Regions from separate parts of the Homo sapiens genome. Here region 2 is linked to region 1. The links are contacts of gene promoters, found by promoter capture Hi-C in human tissues and cell types (Jung and others, 2019). All regions are on one chromosome and are shown on one strand. The core of a region is centred on a gene start or on the middle of the fragment in contact, and the rest is flanking DNA. Distances in the headings are between cores, read along the strand shown.

What was found. The method cuts DNA at HindIII sites, captures the fragments that hold promoters and counts their contacts. A contact is called where the count stands out against the background at its distance.
Region 2: the fragment with the promoter of CYP3A43 here is called in contact with a fragment that was not itself captured in region 1 in 1 of the 25 tissues and cell types used here (small bowel).

The regions. Positions count from the first base shown.
Region 1 is chr7:99,549,354-99,553,840 of GRCh38, forward strand. It overlaps FAM200A (family with sequence similarity 200 member A), which reads right to left and starts at 2,761. Exons shown (of 2, transcript NM_145111.4): 1 at 2,501-2,761. It overlaps LOC105375422 (a long non-coding RNA gene), which reads left to right and starts at 2,812. Exons shown (of 3, transcript XR_927801.4): 1 at 2,812-3,131; 2 at 4,172-4,278. RefSeq lists an enhancer at 2,318-2,507. The HindIII fragment of the contact is 6,423 bases long and covers 1-4,487 here.
Region 2 is chr7:99,825,875-99,830,598 of GRCh38, forward strand. CYP3A43 (cytochrome P450 family 3 subfamily A member 43) reads left to right here and starts at 2,139. Exons shown (of 13, transcript NM_057095.3): 1 at 2,139-2,312. The coding sequence starts at 2,242. The HindIII fragment of the contact is 7,263 bases long and covers 1-4,031 here.

The DNA.
Region 1 (4,487 bases), core at 1,938-4,437:
ATGTGAGTTTAGTGGATTTAAAGATATTACCTGACTTAGGAAACAACAGGTGCCGGAGAGGATGTGGAGAAATAGGAATACTTTTACGTTGTTGGTGGGACTGTAAACTAGTTCAACCACTGTGGAAGACAGTGTGGCGATTCCTCAAAGATCTAGAACTAGAAATACCATTTGACCCAGCCATCCCATTACTGGGTATATACCCAAAGGATTATAAATCATGCTGCTATAAAGACACATGCACATGTATGTTTATTGCGGCACTATTCACAATAGCAAAGACTTGGAACCAACCCAAACATCCATCAATGATAGACTGGATTAAGAAAATGTGGCACATATACACCATGGAATACTATGCAGCCATAAAAAAGGATGAGTTTATGTCCTTTGTAGGGACATGGATGAAGTTGGAAACCATCATTCTGAGCAAACTATCGCAAGGACAGAAAACCAAACACTGCATGTTCTCATTCACAGGTGGGAACTGAACAATGAGAACACTTGGACACAGGGTGGGGAACATCACACAGTGGGGCCTGTCATGGGGTGGGGGAAGTGGGGAGGGATAGCATTAGGAGATATACCTAATGTAAATGATGAGTTAACGGGTGCAGCACACCAACATGGCACATGTATACATATGTAACTAACCTGCACATTGTGCACATGTACCCTAGAACTTAAAGTATAATAAAAAAAAGTAAATAATAAAAAAAAACTTAAAAAAAGTTATTACCTGACTTTACTAAATGAACCCCCCCCTTTTTTTTTTGAGACGGAGTCTAGCTCTGTTGCTGAGGCTGGACTGCAGTGGCACGATCTCAGCTCACTGCAACCTCCGCCTCCAGGGTTCAAGTGATTCTTCCGCCTCAGCCTCCCGAGTAGCTGGGATTATAGGCGCCCAACACCAGGCCCAGCTAATTTTTGTCTTTTTAGTAGATACGGGGTTTCACTGTGTTGGCCAGGCTAGTCTCAAACTCCTGACCTCGTGATCCACCCACCTCGGCCTCCCAAAGTGCTGGGATTACAAGCCTGAGCCACAGCACCTGGCCAACGAACCCCTTTTCTTTGGTACTGTGTCACTTAGCCTCTCTCAATAATGCAAGTAACTTTCTGTATGTTGGTGGCACAAATGGAAATGAATGTGGGGCCATAGGTTTTGCTTAGCTGAATGTTAAATTCAGTCTATCGGCAGATTCCAAAATTGGAAGAGACCTTGAGATAATCTATTTTACTTTACTTAGGACACATTTGAGACTTGGTGGGTCTATGTGTTTCATCCAAGAACATCAATGGCAGAACTGGTACCAGTCCCCAATGGTCCGCTGCACCGTCCACAAATTCCCTTCTCTCCTTTATCCCTCGATGTCAAGCATAGATACCTCCCACAACTGAAAACCCCCCATGTCCGAAATTGCTCATTTAAAACCCTTCCTGGCAGGGCGTGGTGGCTGACCCCTGTAATTGCAGCACTTTGGGAGGCCGAGGCGGGCGGATCACCTGAGGTCAGGAGTTCATTTTCCCAGCCTGGCCAACATGGCGAAACCCCGTCTCTACTAAAAGTACAAAAATTAGCCGGGCATGGTGGCAGGCGCCTGTAATTCCAGCTACTCAGGAAGCTGAGGCAGGAGAAGCTTGAACTCGGGCGCTGGAGGTTGCAGTGAGCCGAGATCGCACCACTGCACTCCAGCCTGGGCGACTCTGTCTCAAAAACAAAAAAACCAACCAAAGAAACAAAAAGACCCCTTCCTAAAGTCTTGAAAGGAAAGGGTGAAGTGTAAATGAGCTTTTCCTATTATATCCAAATCACTTCTTTATTCAGTAGGCTTCAAACATTCTCTTTTTTTGTTTTTGAGACAGAGTCTCACTCTCTCTCTCTGTCTCCCAGGCTGGAGTGCAGTGACGCGATCCTGGCTCACTGCAACCTCCGCCTCCCGGGTTCAAGCGATTCCCCTGCCTCAGCCTCCCAAGCAGCTGGGATTACAGGCGTGTGCCGCCACGTCTAATTTTCTGTATTTCTAGTAGAGACAGGGTTTCTCTAGGTTGGCAAGGCTGATCTCAGAACTCCTGGCCTCAAACGATTCGCCTGCCTAGGCTTCCCAAAGTGCTGGGATTATGGGCGTGAGCCACTGCGCCCGGCCTTCACTCTAATCACCACCATAATGGTACTGGGTTTGAGGGTGAACATATCATCCGCGGACACTGGCTTAACGAGCCCATCCGAATAAAACAAATTATAAGGCCAATGGCACTTGGTATCGTGTAAGATCGCCAGAATTTTACAACTCGGGGTACCCAGGAAACCAGAAAAGCCCCCACCACAAGAAAAACCAGTGGGCACAACTGGGGAGCACAGATATCTGACTGGGGTCATTTTGTCCGCGCGTCTTTGGGGTAAAACACCAGGACTGGGGGTCCAGAAGGGACACGCAGACCGCCTCTCTCCAGTCCCAGGGGTGTCTCCAATCCGGAAACCAAAACTTCGTTCCCTTCCCACCTGTATCCAGGGACACCTCTGCTGGGGGACAGCGCTTGCCACCGCCGAGGCTGGCGCGAGGAACGGGGGCACGGACCCGCTTCCACTCCGTCCCGGGCGGTCGTGGCGAGGGGATTGCAGGACACAGCCATGCACGTCCAACTCTGTCCCCGCCCGGAGAAGTCTGGGATGCTGGGATAGAAGGGGTTGTGACTTTGGGGACCAGGAGCACTAGACTCACATCCAAGCCCCCTGGCCTTCAGAGCCCAGGGAAAGCGTCACAAAAGCCGGAAGTGCGTCACACCCGCCTTCCGGAGCTGCGCTCCGCTTCGGGGTCCTCTCTAGGATCGCGGGAGGACTTTGCATCCCTGTGTAGGGCTCTAATCTCGGGTTTGGGGATCTTGCTCCTCAGCTTGTCCGCTCCGAGGAGGTGCACAGGGCGGGGAAAAAGGGATGAATTTCCCTTTATACCGCCCTGCTCAGATATTTATATGTTCCTTCTATTTTTCTTGATGACAATAATTGTAATAGTTACAATAAAAATAGTGATTGTCTGTGGCAGAGGAGCTGAATGAAACGAGGGTGGAGACAGGAAGATCAAGAATAAATGGTTTCACAAATCGAAGGGATTGTCTCTTGAGACGCTGATTATGTACGTATTGCCAGTTGAATGGGCAGTATTTTCAAATACTTGATCTATAGGCAACAGACGTTCTTTCCAACACTAGATAGTTATAAAATTCTGAGTTTGCCTTATGTTTCCAGGGAGTTTTCAGATTAGCAACGGTGAAATAAGTTGAATTTGAGGCGTTTTTGCTGTCCAAGTGTTATTGTAATAATTAGGGCTTCTATGATTAGATCAAGAATAACTTCACCTTTTATAAAACAGTAACTGAGACCTTGAATGGCTGGGGCATGACTCTAAAAGTTCTGGGCAAGTCTGTGGTACAGCCCAATAAGATAAAAGCCTACAAAAGGAACGGCTACCTGATACAGAGCCTATGATTACGTGGTATCCCGAATTACCTTCTAGACCCTCACTAATGCTCCATTCCTTAGGGGGTTTGATCTTGCTATGGTTGCCATTTTCTACCTACCCACGAGTCTTCTCAATAATCCACTTAAGTGCATCTTTGCTCCATATATATATATACACACATATATATACACACACATATATATACACATATATATACATGTATATATATATACACACACATATATATATATACACACACATATATATATATATATATATATATATATATTTTTTTTTTTTTTTTTTTCCTCCTAGGGCACCGTCAAATCCAATCTTTGCTCCTTTATCACTGGCTGGCTTTCTAACCTACAGTCCTCCGTGATGACATCATAGTCTCAACTTATTCCTCCAGATACATCCTCATATTTCCTTCCAGGGTTCCAAGTCATCGCTAAGAGTCATTACATTGCTACACACTGTATTTTTCTTCTTTGTCTAAAGTCTCTCCTCCCCACCCGTCCCCATTCCTACACTGAAGTGCCTAAAGGGTCCAGGAAGGCAGATTACTGAATGCAGTTGACTGGGTATATGATTTTGTATTTATGTTGTGTGTGTGGCAGGAATTGTAGGCATCTCTATAACGACTCCTTTCTTTGCCTACGGACCTACTGGCACAAGAAACTCAAAGTGGCCTGGTGGTATTCTGTTTTCAGTTCAGTGGCACGATTTAATGTTTCCTAGAGGAAATGTTCTTCCTGGAAATGAGGATCATAACCCAGCTGGCTCCAGATTTCGGAGCGAGGAGGCACAAATTCTACAGGTGAGTGGCTGGGTGTGATAGTAATAGAGGCTACTCCTGTATGCACATAGTCCTACTGGAGACACAATACTATATATCCATTTTGGCCCAATGCATTTCAGCGCATATACCATATTCTGAAGAACTGCTCCCAACTTTGCAAGGCATTACATCTTAATCGCAATTTAGCCCAGTCTTCAACAGGCCATTCCAAAACCCTATCTGGCTAG
Region 2 (4,724 bases), core at 889-3,388, 280 kb after region 1:
TTCTCCTCTGAAGGTTTGTTAACAACAAAAAAAATCACCCACAAAGGAGATTAATGGGAGAAATAGCATACATATTCATTCATATGTTTATGGAGGAGAAATACAGAGTGATTCCCCCTTCTTGAGAAACAGTAAGTCTCAAAGAAAGAGACTTTCTTTCACCCCCTTTTATCCAGGGGTAAGAACAACTAGCTGAACAAAACTGACAGCTGTCAATCAAGTGGGAAGTCCAAAACTCATGAGAGACCCACCCAGTTTTCAATCATCATGAAGGAGCCAGGGGCTCAATGGCCCCTGCTGGTACCAAGTTGCCAGGTCCCTGCAATGTTCCAGACAAAGACAGTGATGGTAAAAAGGGAAAAGTGGAGGTAGAATGCAAGTGCAGCAGCAGGAAGATATGGGACTCTCCATTTTAGGGTCTTCAAGTTTTTCAGATTTTCTGAGACATGGGTTAACTCTTCAGGTTAGTCTCCTAGTAAAACACAGCCAAAGTCCCAATTGTGTTTGAAACTTTCAAAAATGCAGATTGAAAGAAAGCCTCTTACTGTCTTTGAGAAGTCCAGACTCCTCTTATCCTCATTGCATGCTTCGGAGTTCAATTTAGGTGTATCTCTCACATCCATTTCTGTCGAGCCTTTACCTTTAAATTTTAAACTTGAAAAACTGCCAGAGTACCTGATAGTGATTGATCAGAGACAGAGCCACCGAATTACCCGATGGCAGGCCTTAGAGACCATGGCCTTAGGACCTAGGTTATGCATAGCCCTCACCTTAGGAAGGGGTCCCTTCAAGGGCAAATAAAATGCGATAGTCCTTGCAACACTGAAGCATGGAGTATCCTGTGAGGCATGAACTTGCTTGATGCAGCATGAATGCACCCCAAGAAACATGGGCATGCCCCTCCAAGTGCAAGCATACCCCACAAGTGGGTAGCCATAGAGCCAGAAGGGCAGGTTCCCTGAAAAAAATAAAGACCTCAAGACCTCATCCTAAATGTGAGATCTTGGATGTAAGAGGATTTACTGATTTTTCCACAAAACAGCCAGGCCAGGAAGATAACTGAGCTTAGAGGACTCTTGCTGGTGCCAATGCATTGATTAGTCCAGATGACAAGGGAGAGGATCTTGAGAGCCAATTTTGATCCCTTCCTCATCACCAGGAAATATGAGTAAAGATTGTGGGATCTGTGGAGGACAGAGGGAGAGCTTCATTTTCTATAAAACACAGTCTGCAGATTGAGGAGATGCAGCCTCGGAGGTGGAGAGCTATAAAGTCAAAAACCACAGAGCAGGATAGAGGAGTCAGAGGAGTGAAGAAAAGAGTCTTGATTAGACAGCCTTTAAGCCCCAAGTCACATGTCTCTTAATTGGCTGTTCCTAGGTGGTCAGTTAGTTCTTACCACATGATCTGTTGGTGAGCAGTTGGAAAATTCCCAGGTACAGATTTTTTCAGAAAATGTTATTTGACTTGGCTACAGAAAAATAGGTTTTGCAACACTTACTAAGAACACAGAGAACATGACCATCACCTAAACCTGCCATGGCCTCTTGGGTTTGTTTTTGCTTTTGAGGCACAGGGAGTCCTTCTTGTCTGTTTACCTGGAGGCATGATTTGGCAACCTAGATAACAAACAGAGATAGGCTTTCTAAAAAGAATTATTTTTATTTGGGAATAAAGCATTGCAATGGGAATATGCGTGCCAAGGTAAACTATGTGCTTATTCAGGTAGGTAAAGTAAGACAAAGTTTAAAAAAATAATGAGAAGGATTACATATTTGTTTTGGAATGATTATCCTTGGCTATAAAGATCAATAACAAGACTGACATCAGTTTGAGGTTGGACAGGCAGTTGCTGGGCAGATGTTCTTGCAGAAGTATTTTTCTTTAGGTTCCTGAGAATCTATAACCTTTGGGCTTACCAATAGCAGTGACTGATTTGTTTACTGATTGTTCACAGAATAGGAAATCAAAGGAGGCCAAAATAAGGACAGCCATAATTATTTGCCAATTGTCAATTTGAAAAGGGTACCCAAATCCCTCCATATGAGGAGTAGCATAAGTGGCTTTTCTACTGGCTGCCGCTGTAGACCCACCTCCTTCTCCAGCACATAAATATCGCTGTTAACATTAACTAAATCACCTCTGGGCAGAGAAACAAAGCTCTATATGCACAGCCCAGCAAAGAGCAGCACACAGCTGAAAGAAAAACTCAGAAGACAGAGCTGAAAAAGAAAACTGGTGATGGATCTCATTCCAAACTTTGCCATGGAAACATGGGTTCTTGTGGCTACCAGCCTGGTACTCCTCTATATGTGAGTAACTATGCAGGCATGTTTGCTCTTAACTCTAAGACCTGAAGTGCTAATTGGGCCCATCTTTTTCTTATTTGTTTTGAAGATAAAAGAGATAACGGAGGGGAAGTTACCTAAGTGCCAAATACTGTGAACACATAAAATATTATTAATATGTTAGGACTCCTAATACAACATTTGAAAATGTAAAATTTAGTCTGGGTGCGGTGGCTCACACCTGTAATCTCAGCACTTGGGAGGTGGAGGCAGGCCAATCACAAGGTCAGGAGTTCAAGACCAGCCAGACCAACATGGTGAAACCCCTTCTCTACTAAAAATACAAAAATTAGTCAGGCATGGTGGCACACACCTGTAATCCCAGCTACTTGGGAGGCTGAGGCAGGAGAATCGCTTGAACCCAGGAGGCAGAGGTTTCAGTGAGCGGAGATTGCACCACTGCATTCCAGCCTGGGTGACAGAGCAAGACTCCGTCTCAAAAAAAAAAATAAAACTTTGTCATACTGAGTAGTTTGAACTAAAGAAGACTGAAAGACTTCACAAATGTCTTCAGAATCTCTGACCCTCTTCTGTCTACCCATCCCCCATTCTTTCCCTCCTGAAGTGCAGGGTTGCTCTGAAGTTCTCTTATCTGACTAAGGGAAGATCTTCCAAAAAGAATGCAATTGTCTTGAGCCTCTCCAAATAATCTCATCAATCAGAAAACTAATTCACAGGAAAAGAGAAAAAGTTTGATAATACTTATTCTTTGGAGCACTGCTACCTGAGAGACTTTATCTCCACAATAAAATAACCTTTGTTCATCATGTGTTTTCTCCCTTCACCTTCCCATAACTTGTGTCAGAAACTCCCTATCAGAAGCCACTCCCTACTTTTTAGCTTACAATGCTATTTAAGCTTTACTCATTCAGTCCTTATTTTAGTCTCATATATTGTGGGCCTCCAGCACATATGCATGTAAAATTTTGTATGGATTTTCACTGTAACCACCCAAGAGATTCACCTTGCCCCCTGCCTCAACAGAGCCCATTCATCAAGACAGGGGAATTGTAATAGAGAATGAGTTAATACATGCTGCCAACAAAAAGAGCCAAACTCTGTACAATACTTGAAGAGATTTATTCTGGGCCAAATATGAGTGACCATGGCCCATGACACAGCCTTCAGGAGGTCTTAAGAACATGTACCCAAGGTGGTCAGGGTGCAGCTTGGTTTTATTCTTTTAGGGAGGCATGAGATATCAAATACATTTAAGAAATACATTGGTTTGGTCCACAAAGGCAGGAAATGTGATTTTTGCAGAATTCTTTGTGATAGAGCAGACTCCAGAGAAATTGCAACAACTTAAAGTCTTTCAGATCTGGCCCTAAGGAGCTATAGGAGAGAAAAAAAATCTGTCAGATCACCATTGCCTACCTCTACTCCAACTGGAGCTGTTTCAAAACCAACATGTAGAAATCTTTTTGTCTGGCTGCCCTGTGAACTCAGAAACTAGTCTGCTAAATGATTAACTTTTGGTCTCCTTTTGCTTTGGTAGAATGACCTCTTATTAAGTACCTGTTTAACTGCACCATATACAGACCTATCTTTCATGACAGCAGACCTGCAACATCACCTCCTGAAATGAGGCACAGCTGTTTAACTGGATTGACATTGCTAGGAATGTGAGACTGGTTTATACTGGTTTAATGTGATTCCTTGCGACTCAGCTACCAATTCAATTGTCCTCTCCACAAGCATCAACTCAGCTTTAGTATGTACATTTTCTAGGGAAGTTTATGACAGGGGAAAGTTGGGGCTCCAAAAATGAAACCCCAAAATATGGCACTTAAGCATGTTGAGGACTTTGAACCAAAGGAAATTGAAAGGTCTCAGAAAGTCTTCAGAACCAAGCTAACTCTTATGTTCTCCTGTCTCCCAACCCTGCTATTTCTCCCAAAATATAGGAAGGGGCTTTCTCTGAAGTTCTCATACCTAAAGGAAGATCCTCCTAAAAAAAAGCAATGGTCTTGAGCCCCCTCCCTATAATCTCATGAAAAAGAATCTTAGCAGGGCCAGGCATGGTGGCTCATACCTGTAATTCCAGCACTTTGGAAAGCCGAGGTGGGTGGATCACGTGAGGTCAGAAGTTCAAGACCAGCCTGGTCAACATGATGAAACCCTGTCTCTACTAAATATACAAAAATTAGCTGGGTGTGGTGGCAGGTGCCTGCAATCCCAGCTACTCGGGAGGCTGAGGCAGGAGAATCGCCTGAACCCTGGAGGCAGAGGTTGCAGTGAGCCAAGATTGCGCCATTGCACTCTAGCCTGAACAACAAGAGCAAAACTTAGTCTAAAAGAAAAAAAAAAGAAAAAAATAATATTAGCTCACAGAAAGGGAGACTAAGGTTGATAATACTTGTTCTTTGGAGCACT